2 separate regions of the Homo sapiens genome follow, and region 1 is linked to region 2. The links are contacts of gene promoters, found by promoter capture Hi-C in blood cells and fetal thymus (Javierre and others, 2016). All regions are on one chromosome and are shown on one strand. The core of a region is centred on a gene start or on the middle of the fragment in contact, and the rest is flanking DNA. Distances in the headings are between cores, read along the strand shown.

The links. The method cuts DNA at HindIII sites, captures the fragments that hold promoters and counts their contacts. A CHiCAGO score of 5 or more calls a contact.
Region 1: a fragment that was not itself captured here is called in contact with the fragment with the promoter of UTP25 in region 2 in 5 of 17 cell types (neutrophils, non-activated CD4 T cells, activated CD4 T cells and 2 more); the score reaches 13.8 in neutrophils.

What each region holds. Positions count from the first base shown.
Region 1 is chr1:209,695,887-209,698,939 of GRCh38, forward strand. The region is part of intron 1 of HSD11B1-AS1 (HSD11B1 antisense RNA 1); the gene reads right to left. It also overlaps a transcript of HSD11B1 not described here. Among named protein-coding and RNA genes, the nearest start is that of HSD11B1, 7.4 kb to the right of the region's middle. The HindIII fragment of the contact is 1,332 bases long and covers 585-1,916 here.
Region 2 is chr1:209,826,211-209,829,505 of GRCh38, forward strand. It overlaps UTP25 (UTP25 small subunit processome component), which reads left to right and starts at 1,762. Exons shown (of 12, transcript NM_014388.7): 1 at 1,762-1,960. The coding sequence starts at 1,854. RefSeq lists an enhancer at 1,802-1,851. The HindIII fragment of the contact is 3,327 bases long and covers 681-3,295 here.

The DNA.
Region 1 (3,053 bases), core at 1-2,500, 130 kb before region 2:
AAACATACGTTCACACAAAAATTTTCATACCAATGTTCATTGCAGCACTGTCCATAATAGCAAAAAACAGGGGAAAATTCCAAATGTCTGTGAACTGGTGAATGGATCAACAAAATGTGGTACATCCATACAATGGAATATGATTTGTCAATAAATGACACATGTTACAATACGGAAGAATCTCAAAAACATGTTAAGTGAAAGAAGTCAGACAAAAGATTACACGTTGTGTAGTTCTACTAATATAAAATGTCCAGGGCAGGCAAGTCTATACATGGAAATAAAATTACTGGTTGCCTGGGGCTGGGGGTGGAAACAGGGAGTGACTGTAAATGGGCACAAGAAATCTTTTTGGGAGATGGAAATGTTCTAAATTAGATTGCAGTAATGATTTCTCAACTCTGCAAATTTATTCAAAATCATTGAATTGTACACTTAAAATGAGATAATTTGCTAGTATATAAATTGCACTGCAATAAAGCCGTTAAAAAATAATCATGTCAGTTTCAGCATGATGAATTTGAGATGTTTAGGAGGCCCTCAGAAGGAGAGGGTTTGGGTAAGCAGGTGGTTATACTACCTGAAGCTTAGGAGAAATTGCTGCACAGGAAATAGAGACTTTTAAGACTCATCCATCAACACAAAGGTTGTAATTATAACCATGAGAGAGAAGGGAATTACGCAGGGAATACAGACAAAAAATGAGAACCGAATCAAGGCCAACTCCAACATTCAAGGAATCCAGAAGAAAAGATAAGCCTATAAAGAAAACTGAGAAGCAGTGAGAGAAACAGAAAGAAAAGCCTGGTGACTATGAATTGACAGAAGCCAAGGGAGGAGGATATTTGGGGAGGTTAAAGTGGCAAGTGATACTTAATGAGAAGGATCAAAGAGAAAAAAAGCATGGTAGAAAAATCCAGCTGGTTATAGGGCAGCCCAATAACATTGCTGGGCATAGCTCCAGGGGCTGCAAGCCCTCAGGGTCAAGGCCATACCCAGCACAGCCTGGCAGGAAGAGTGAAGTGCTGATGGAGGGTGTGAAGCTGGATTGAAGAGCTGAAAGAGTGCAGAAGATTCAGAATTTTTTGCATAAGGCAATGAGGGGATACAAAGAGCCAGGGGATAGAGTTCTGGGATGGGGATGAAGAAGCCACAGAGGGCAAAGCCTTCATGACTTGAGAACAAATGGCCAGAACTACAGACTCCAACAGTGGGCATTCATGGCCCTCAAAGATGTGCCTCTGCTTGCCTCTCCAGGCTTCTTACTGTGTAACCCCACCTTGTAAAATTCAGTTATCCAGCCACATGGAACTGTTCATAGTTTCCCAAACATGACTTTCTCTTTCACACCTCTTTCTATTTTCCCACACAGCTTCCTGTGCAAAGAATGTTCTACAAACTAGCCCTCCCCTCTCCCCACACACTCCTGAACCCAACTCAATGCTCACTGTTATCATTCTTCATTTCCTGGAACATTCCTGCTCATATTTCAACATGGATCAAAATGAACAACTTCCTGGAAGCAGCTCCTGCTGGCCCGTCCCACATGTAGAATGGGCTACTCCCTTCATTATGCCCCTACTGTAGACTTCCATTAGCGCACTGGTAATGTCTTACACATTTCATTTATTTCCACGTCTTCTTCTTCTAGGGCATGGAGAGCATTTCAATGGTGTTTTTATTCATAGTACCTGACCAACAGTAAATACCTAACTAAATAAATGTTAGTAGATGATTCCTCCACCCAGCTACCATGTGGTATGTACCTCTTTTGCCTTTTTGGGCTGTTTGTGGCCAGGATGCTGGGCTCCACTTTGGTAAAGGTAGACCAGATGGCTATCAGTAGGCATGGTCCAGAATGTTTTGTCCACACCTGAGACCATTTCTCAGGTTCTTAAAGCCCACTGCCACTTCTAAGCTTTTCAAATTAAACACAGTTCACCCAGTTAAATCCAAATTTCAGATAAACAATGAATGATTAATGGTTTTGTTTTTTCCTTTTTTTTTTTTTTTTTTTTTTTTTTTTTTGAGATGAGGGTCTTGCTATGTTTCCCAAGCTGATCTCAAACTCCTAGCCACAAGTGATCCTCTCTTTGGCCTCCCCAGTGGCTGGGATTACAGCCAAGAGCCACCAAACCTGGCTTGAATCATGTTTTAGTGTAAGTATGTTCCTTTCAAGACATCTTTCCTTCAATAGTTTAGGAATATTTCTTTCAACAGTTTATCCCATCTTGATAGGTAGACAGCTTAGATAGAGGATAGGTAGATAAGATAGATAGATTAGATAGATAGATAGATAGATAGATAGATAGATAGATAGATAGATAGATAGGAAGGACAGACAGACAGGCATCCTTAAAATAACTATTTGTCATTTATCTGAAATTCAGATTTAACTGTATTTGTCATTTATCTGAAATTCAGATTTAACTGGGCATTCTGTATTTCTATTTGCTAAATCTGGCAACCCTATGTCCCACCAGGGGCAAGTGACTTCCTTCTAATGCTGACATCCCTGGAACCTTGAGATGCCCACCTGGCTGGGGCTGTGGTGTCACCCTAGCGTGCTTCCTGAAAGTTGGGCTGGCCAACCAAGAAAAAACACAAGATGGGCCAAAGCCCTGTGGTGGTCATGCTGAGGTCAGTCCTCTCAGCTGTGTGGGGCTCTCCCACTGCTCCCCATGCTGCCAATGTTTCAACAGACCTTCCATTGAATAACTTTGTTTAGTTCTTACATGGCCCCCTCTCTCTTCTATGCTCAGATGTGAATCCACAGGAGCTAGGCAAGAGAGAAAACCTGAAAAACTACAACTACAACATGCTTAGAACTGTCTACTTAGATCATGCCCTTAAAACATAAAAACAACAGAATTTTTTTGATTATAAAAAGAACTCTTTGCATCTCCATCTCCACTGGGGGCAGGGATCAGACCATGCTCGTGACCTCGTGAGGGTCTCTTCTTTCCTAGAAGGCCCTTGGCTCTCCCAGGCAAATAGATTCCAGGTATTCTACCCTCTCAGTCCCCTACCACAAGCTACACGTGCCAGGCAGT
Region 2 (3,295 bases), core at 512-3,011:
TGATGACATCTTGCAAACAGGCTTTTGTTGACCTAAGTGACTGTACCTTTTATCTTGAAATTACATAGAAGACAAATGGCTATTTATGGGTTCCTTGGCTGGCCCAGCTGCTGGGCACCACCCGCTCTGTTTGCATGTGTTCCTCATATTCTCCGGCCCTGTCCTCCCATCCCCACCCCAGCCTCTCCGAATCTAATTAGGAATAGTAGATGGTCACTAGAACTGACAAGAATCGCATTCTAATGGTTTTATTACAACTTCTATGGTGTGACACAGTATCAGGGAAAACCCAAATTTCCCACAGTAGCACTCCAATAGCAGAGCTATTATTTTGCTTCTCATTTCTCTCATTTTGGACGCTCCTGTTTTACCGTAAATATTCAAGTGAATTCTGCGGCTTATGATTTAAGCACTCTGTTTCTATAGAACATGGTAGCATAAGTTACTATTAGGAAAAGGATCTCACCATCTTTATCCTGTGGTCTCAAGCAGCCCTGCACACTTGCAAATCCCTAGAATACTGAGTCTACTTTTATATTTTTGCTTTTTCCTGTTTATTTAGGTGTTATTTAAATACATTAAAATTCACCCATTTTAACTGTACAGTTTAACTTTTCTTATGTATACAAGGTGTAACTACTAGCATGATCAAAATGTAAGATGGTTCCTTTACCTTCAAAAGCTTTTCCATCCCCTTTTGTCCGAGTTCAGTTATGAGACACTGGATTGGGTTTCACAGCCTTTTCTAGCATTGACTGGGGTGATTTCAGTAAAGTCACTTTACCTCTCTAGATGTGTTTCTGCTGTTGTTAAATGGGGAATGCTGGAACAGATTTGTTTGCGGGGACTCTTCCAATACTTTCAGAAAATGCGAGAATAGGGTGAGGGTGGGAATCTCAGACTTGTGGGCCCCATGATTGATATAACACACACAGGCGGCAGACCCTAATGGGTAAAAGCATGTGGTTGCATCAGTTAAGGTTTTTCTCTCTTCTCTTGCTAGCGTGTTATCTTTTCTTTTCTTTTCTTCTTTTTTTTTTTTTTCGAGATGGAGTCTAGCTTTTGTCGCCCAGGCTGGAGTAGGCTGGAGTGCAGTGGAGTGATCTCGGCTCATTGCAACCTCCACCTCCCGGGTTCCAGCGATTCTCCTGCCTCACCTCCTGAGTAGCTGGGATTACAGGCGCCCGCTACCACGCCCGGCTGATTTTTGTACTTTTAGTAGAGACGGGGTTTCACCATGTTTGGCCATGCTGGTCTCGAACTCCTGACCTCAGGTGATCCGCCCATCTCGGCCTCCCAAAGTGTTGAGATTACAGGCGTGAGCCACCGCGCCCGGCCGCTAGCGTGTTATCTTTTCTAAGCATCAGTTTCCTTATCTGCAACACCAGGCTTATTAACAAGACCTATCTGTACACTGTTGTGGTGATGAAGTGAGATGTTCAGGCACCCTTAAATGTTGGTTGATATTTTTATTGCAGTATACTGTAAAGTCACTGCATTCGACTATCTCCGCTACTACACATTTACGCAGACTGATTTCCATAACCAAAACACAAGCACAAAGCTCATGCCCCCGACTCACGCAACCCGGGAAGCCCAGCTGCCCACGTTCTAGGGCTCTGAGAACACTAGTGAACGAACTCCCGTGCTTTCAAAGAGCTGCGGTAGGGGGCAGAACCGGGAACCGGATGTTCTAAGCCTGTCGTACGAGCGCGACGTAAAGCGGATCTGCTTTATGGCACCTTGCTTTCGCCGTAAAGCGCAGTCAGCGAGCCCACGTGCTTGTGTTGACTGGACAACTTCCTGGTGGAAAACCGCGACTCTTGCAAGTGGGCAAACTTGACGTTTTCGCTATGGGCAAACGCGGGAGCCGGAGCCAGAGCCAGCTACTCAACACCCTAACTAAAAAGCAGAAGAAACATCTTCGAGATTTCGGCGAGGAGCATCCCTTCTATGACAGGTCTGAAGGGGCGTGGCAGGGCTCCCCAGTCGCCAGAGATGTATCCTCGAGTTTGGTCCTCTGGTCTCCCAGATAGTGCTGCTCCGGCCTTTTCCCACTATTCCCTGGCTCCCGCTGTGCTCGGCCGGGGAGATTCTGGCGCCATCCCGCCGGGAGATGGAGTGCTTCACGGGCCTTTTTGTTGAGCCTGTAATTTCCTGCTAAGAGGCACGCCCGTTGTGTGGGGGAGGATTTTTTTTTTTTTTTTAAGACGGTGTTTCGCTCTGTCGCCCAGGCTGGAGTGCAATGGCGCGATCTTGGCTCACTGCAACCTCTGTCTCCTCCCGGGTTCAAGCGATGCTCCTGCCTCAGCCTCCCGTGTAGCTGGGATTACAGGCGCCCGCCACCAAGCCCGGCTGATTTTTTGTATTTTTAGTAGAGATGGGGTTTCACCATGTTGGCCAGGCTGGTCTTGAACTCCTGACCTCAGGTGATCCACCCACCTCGGCCTCCCAAAGTGCTGGGATTACAGGCGTGAGCCACCGCGCCCAGCTATGGGGGCGGATTTTTGTGTGGTCAGAGATCTAGGAATTTTTTGTAGACACACATATATATATGTATATATATAATTTTTTTTTTTTAAGACAGAGTCTCGCTTTGTCGCCCAGGCTGGAGTGCAGTGGCGCGATCTCAGCTCACTGCAACCTCCGTCTCCCGGGCTTAAGCGATTCTCCTGCCTCAGCTTCCCGTGTAGCTGGGATTACAGGCGCCCGCCATCACACCCGATCAATTTTTTGTATTTTTAGTTGAGACGGGGTTTCACCATGTTAGCTAGGGTGGTCTCGAACTACTGACCTCGGGTGATCTGCCCGCCTTGGCCTCCCAAAGTGCTGGAATTACAGGCGTGAACCACCGCGCTTGGCCTGTTTTTATAATTATTTTTAACTTACATAAAATGATTGTACATATTTGTGGGATACAGTGTGATATTTTGATAACAATACATGTACCCAATGTGTAATGATCAAATCCGGGTAATTAGCATATTCATCATCTCAAACATCAATTCTTTGCGTTGGGAACATTGAAAATCCGCTCTTCTAGCCATTTGAAAATATACAATAAATTGTTAGTTATAGTCACATCATATGTTGTGTGTGTTTTTAAAGAATTTGTTGGGACATCATTGATCTTTGCAATTACGATAAGGAACTAAGTGTATTAGTAGTTGTGGTTTCTCTAGAAATGTCTAGGTGCAGTTATGATCTCAATGCTCATCCCACTACTTTGGGCTGCTTTGTCATCAGTTAGGGACATTCTTTTTTTCTTTTCTTTTCTTTTTTCTTTTTTTTGAGG